Linked DNA regions of Homo sapiens: region 1 is linked to region 2. Evidence: promoter capture Hi-C in 16 types of primary human blood cells and fetal thymus (Javierre and others, 2016). All regions are on one chromosome and are shown on one strand. The core of a region is centred on a gene start or on the middle of the fragment in contact, and the rest is flanking DNA. Distances in the headings are between cores, read along the strand shown.

Evidence for each region. The method cuts DNA at HindIII sites, captures the fragments that hold promoters and counts their contacts. A CHiCAGO score of 5 or more calls a contact.
Region 1: a contact is called between a fragment that was not itself captured here and the fragment with the promoter of VANGL1 in region 2, in 1 of 17 cell types (fetal thymus). The highest score is 5.2, in fetal thymus.

Annotation. Positions count from the first base shown.
Region 1 is chr1:115,139,048-115,141,998 of GRCh38, reverse strand. No RefSeq gene overlaps it. Among named protein-coding and RNA genes, the nearest start is that of LINC01765, 41 kb to the right of the region's middle. The HindIII fragment of the contact is 1,853 bases long and covers 378-2,230 here.
Region 2 is chr1:115,640,551-115,643,347 of GRCh38, reverse strand. VANGL1 (VANGL planar cell polarity protein 1) reads right to left here and starts at 1,378. Exons shown (of 8, transcript NM_138959.3): 1 at 1,262-1,378. RefSeq lists an enhancer at 763-1,521 and a silencer at 657-1,646. The HindIII fragment of the contact is 1,717 bases long and covers 465-2,181 here.

The DNA.
Region 1 (2,951 bases), core at 55-2,554, 500 kb after region 2:
TTCAGGAAGAGTAGAATCAGGAGATTTTTAAAGTGAGGCATAGAGATGTCCCCAGGCATACTATGTGCTGGGGACCTAATGGGGAAGAAAGACAGTTGTGCCCAGATTGCCAAAGCCTTATCAGCCATTCTCCAGAGCTAGAACATTGTCCTATGGGTATCAGAGAATTTCAGAAAACAGAATGACATCATAAAGAAAGCACTGGATCAAGAGCCAACAATCCATGGGATCTGCCAATCCCTAGCTATGTAGCCTTGGGCAAGGAACTGTCCCTCTTGGGGCCTCAATTTCCAACTCTGTCAAATGAGATAATTGAGCTAAATGACTTTTTTTATTATTCCACAAGAATAAAGTGAAACAATTTGGGGATAGAAGCTTGGTTTAGAAACAGATTGTGAAGCTCTCTGCTTGGGAAGTTTCCCCATGCCCCTGAGCCCTTATCTGGACCATGCACAACCATAAATGTGCGTTTACATGTGTACACACTCATTCACACCCCTCCAATCCATCCTCTATTTGCTCGCCACAAAGGGGTAGGATTAAAATGCTTCAGGAATCCAAAACCTCTGTAGGATAAAGCTGACACTCCTTAGCATGGAAGACAAAGCCCTTCACAGCTCTGCAGTCTCATGTCATACAACTTCATAACTAGACCTTCAGGATCCAGCCAGACCACCCCTCCCTGGCCTCAACTCCCCTAATACATTATTTGGCCTCACATATCTGCTCCTAAGCCCATGGTGCTTTGTCTGCCTGGAATGCCTTTTCCATAGCCTTGCTCTTGGTAAGCCTCATTGGTAGACCACATTTACTCTTTCAAACTTGCTCAAGAACAGCCTCTGCAGCAAAGCTGTCCTCCCCTCCCATGTCCCCCTCCTTATGCATATTTCTATCTATGCTGGGACACTGGATTGTAATCACTGGTTTCCATGGCTCTCTCTTCCACAGATGATGAATGCCTCAAGAATAAGAGCTATGTCTCAGTGACACTTGTATCCCCAGCTCCTAGGGCTGGAGACATAGAATGCCTAGACTTCTATGTAGCTGGCCATGGAATGTCCCCAGCAGATGTAAAACTAACCACTTGCATTTTTATTTAACTGTTCTGATTGTGTGCCCCAAACTACAGGATGATCTCTCAATGTTTTGGTGGGAACTGGAAACTTCTAGAGCTAAATTAGCTGCCAGAAAAGAACTGTTCACCGTAGGCTGGAGACCCATTGTCTCCTTCTGTGTTCCCAGCTTTTCATAAATGCCACTTCAGACTGTGGGATAGGCAGGTAGGAAGGTGGGCCACTCAAACTTGTCCAGCAATGTCTTGTTTTCATGAAGTCATAGAACCTCAGAATTGAAAGGGATCCTAGAAGCCATCACAGCCTTCCACCCAGGGCAGAACACCCCTACATTCCTTACAGGTGCTCATCCAAACTCAGTAGGTCTCAACTCATCCTGGTGAGGAAGCCTGGCCTGCTCTTGACTGGTTATTAGAAAAATGCTTCCTCATTTAACCGAGGTAATCCCAGCATTCCATGTATTCCTGTCTCAATAAAATCTCATTCAAATAAGAGTCTAACAACCTAGAGTAGGTGAAAATGCAATTCAAAACATGCTGGGAGTTCTCAAAAATTACTAAAAAACAATCATCCTCTTACAATCCTTTTTCCTCATATTTCTCTTTGGATCTCCTACTCGGTGTAGAGGCTCCCAAAACTCTCCCTCTTCTGACTATTCCCAACCAAGCCCGCAAGCAGGCTGCAGCCTTTCTCCACGAGGCCCCCACCCCCATCCTGCACAACTAATGATGGTGGATACTCTCAGCCTCTCTTGCTTTTTAATTTTCTGTTGTTTCCTGTCTTACCCCACTCCCCAGATTCTGCTCTACAAAAGGGATCCCAGGAGCTTCTTGAATATTGACAACACTTATTTTTTTAATTCTTTATAACATGTTGATGGAAATAGAAGCATCTGCATGTCAGGAAGCTGTCATACTTCTCTAACGTCTTTTCTTCTCCAGTCTACACCATCCCCATTTCTTCAACTGACCCTCCAATGGCACAGCTCCCAGAGCCCCAGCACTCCGATGTGCCATTCCTTTTGATATCACCCTTGAGTAATTCCCACAGTATTTAAAAAGAGATGCACAATTATTGTGGATAATAGTAATTATCCACAATAATTCAAGTGTGGTTTCACAACACATAAGACTGTGGAACTCCATGAAAAAGAAGCTTTATGAATGAAGCTGAATAATGCATTACTTTTACCACATTTTCTTAAAAAATAAAAATAAAAAGTACAACTCTGTTCAAAACTGGACACTAACTTCCCGAGGGCCCACCACACTCCCATAGGTAGGCATGTTGTGAGTGGAACGCCGATGGACGCGGGCCCTTGGCACGACAGGCGGGGCCGAGCACTCCTAGGAAGGCCACTGTGTGGGGTGGCTTGAGGGGCTCTAGGGAAACCCCATCCTTCCCATCAAAAATATCCCCACCACCAGGACACATCACTGTCCCATGTCACTCAAAGGCATTAAAAGCAATTGGTAAGTCGCAACTAACCCAACAGGAGGAAGACACCCTCAGGAATGGGCATTAATTAGGGTCTTAGCTGAAGTTATTTCAGATATTATTGGCTACCGCTAAAGGAAGTAGGGAAAGTTCTGAATGTGCCATAGGTGAAGGTTGTGTACCTCCAGGGGGAGCATGAGGTGAGGTGAGGTGAGGGGAAGGCAATGAGAGAAACAAAGGGTCCATGTGAAGAGAATGATGGCGCCTGGTAAGGAGACTGGCCTGAGCCGTAAGTGCGTCTGTGCTGCTTGGCTCAAGCTGCCAGCAACGGGAGCGTAACTGGTTTCACAAGGCTCCCAAGTGGAGCCACACTGCTCGCGGCCTCCAGTGAAGCACACGACCAGAGTGCCCTCTAGCGGGGGGAACGAGCGCTCACCACCC
Region 2 (2,797 bases), core at 129-2,628:
TCTCACTTGCAGAGCCTGGGAGCTGTGTACTCAACCCACCCACTGACGGGAGAATGCTAATTAGCATTGTTGACTGGTGATACAAGTTATAATATTTTTCAGCAGCCCCGTAAAATTTATAAACATGTCAGTGAAAATGCCAGATTCTTTTACAGTTTGTTAGCTTTTGGACTAAGTGTCTAAGAATACATTCATTTCTAACCAAAGCCAGGTCAAGAGTTTTAACAAAATGCATGGGCCATCTACACAATCATCATCATAAGGCGCTCTAACACTTCCTAAGGAGAATCTAAGAGAGCTCACAACACCTTCGCAGCGTGGGCATTAGACCTGGTTTGGAGAAGTGAAAACTGAGCAACAGATTCCTCAGCTCCAAGTCTCATCTGCTCATCACACAGCAGCCAGGCCGCGGCTCCGCCCCACTGCTGCCGCCACCACGGACGCGTTTAAATTTTTATAAAGCTTCACACTTCTCTAGGCGCGATGCTTGGGGCAGTTCAAAGACTGCAGAAGGAAATGAGGTCCTGCCGGTGGCGAAGGCTGCCCCGGCGCGGTGAGATTTCCTCCAGCAGGGACACCTTGGGCAGAGACCCGCCAGGCGCCTCTGCTCCACCCCGGCGTTTTTGAAAGTAAACTCCTACCTGCCTGTTGCGCTCTCCGAGGCGCAACCGGACTCGCCCCCCAGGCCTCCAGGGCCGGCTCAATTTTTTGTGAGCGAGGTGTGCACACAGACCAGCTCTGTCCCGGTTCCTGGCGAAGGGCCAGGCGGCGCCCGGGTCGAGCCCCGCCAGGGGTGGGAACCCCGGTGCGCGCCCGGCTCCCGCCCTGCACGGCTGCTGCAGCCGCCCGGTGCCTCCAACGCTCGGCCACTCCCTGCCGGCCTGCCCGCCGCCCCGGCACGCGCACCGAAGGGGCGCACTCCAAAGGCCAGCCCGGGGAGAAAGGGACGTCCGAGGTGTGAGCAGGGAACCCCGGGACCCCAAGGAGTGGGGTGCGGCGGAGATCGCACGGCAGGGCCAGGAGGGGCGCAACGCATGGGGAGAAGAGTGGAGTCAGAGGAAGCACTACCCGGAGCGCTCCGGAGGAGGGGAGGGAGCCCCCGGCCCGAGGCGGGAGCCGGCCACCCGGGGTCGAAGTCCGGCGGGGCGAATGCGGGAGGAGGGCGCAGGGGCACGCGGGGTCCGAGGTGGGGGCGTCTCCCAGCCAACGGTCTGCCCCGGGGACCGCCGCCGCGCAGCGCTCGGCCTCTCGCGGGACTCACCTCCGCGCCGGCCGCCCGAGCTCCGCGGCCCGCGGTCTCGGCTCACAGCGGCCCCGGCTCTGCGGCCTGCGCTGGGCTCCTGGAGAGGCAGAGCCCCGCCGCCGCCGCCGCTGCACTGCTGCTTTCCGCTTCCTGTCCCGGCGCCGCCCCGCAGCCCGAGCCCAGCCCTGCGAGCCCGGCGCGGCCGCGAGCCAAGAACAGCTAGCGCTGCCGGCCCCGCCGCGGGGCCGGCCCACCTGCAGCGGAGGGCGGGGCTCGGCCGGCGTCCCCCTCACCTCGTCACCGCCCCGACCCCACACACCCGGGACACACACGAAGGCGTGCGCGGTCACACTCTTACACACGGACCAGGGAATGACACCTCCCACACTCATTCACCCTCATACACACACTCACCCTACACAGACGTGCACAGCCCAGTAACCCACTCTCTTCTGGGCAGACACACACACTATAAACACATGGCCCAGGGATTGATCTCCGACACCGCCCCCTCCCTCCCCCACATACTTGGAATCTCAAGCTCACACACACACACACACACACACAATCATGCACAAAATCCGAGCCCATTTGCCCTCACGAGTGCCCCCATCCACATATTCACACGGCTCAGGGACTAACCCCCCAACCCCACTCAACACACACTCATATACACACTTTCCAAGAACTGACCGACAAATATCCATATACACCATATCTCAACCCATATACACACACTTAAACTCACATGTAGCCCTGGAAATGACCCCACAAATAGACACACACACACACACACACACACACACACACACACCCCCTACAAGCCACCACAGCAAGCCTCTCCCCTCCTCCTCCCTTATCAGAGCAGGCACTGCCGCCAGCCTAGTCTCCTAGAAACTGCTAGATGAGCACATCTCTGCAGGCAGGTAGCTGAAGCTTCAGTGCTGATTCCAACCAGGTACTGTTTCCTTTCTGAGCCTTTGTTTACCTGTCTGAAAAGTGGTGAGGATGCTGCTGTCCACCTTGCAGGATTGTGGTGAGGATTACAAAACAGTTGGCAACGATTTTCATGAATATTTGCACTTTTCTTAGTTGTCTTGTGTTGGTAGCATTAGGGTTCCTTACTGATCATCTCCAATCTAGCTGGGACCCAAAGCTGCTTACGTGGCAGGATTTTCCAGTGGAAGCAGTGTATAATGAAGTGCTGAATTTCCTAAGAGTTGTCTACAGGAGTATTGCGGGCATTTGGGGTGGGGAAATGCAGGCCCACCCTGACTAGCCTTAATCAGGGAACCTTGGCTCCAAGAACCCCTCACTCCCTTGATCACCTCTTCCTCATCCCTTCTAGACTCCATTTTCTCTCGCATATGTCACATTTCCTTGAGAAGACACCCATATGTTCAATGTGGCTGATTTTCACCACTCCTAGTCCCCAGGCTCTGCTGCCCCACTCAGTGGCCTAGACCATCTTCCTCCCCCACCCCCAGCCTCCCAGTAGGCTCCAGAGAGCAGATGTTGCTGACTCAGGCAGCCAGGTTCCTATGGGTAAAGCCA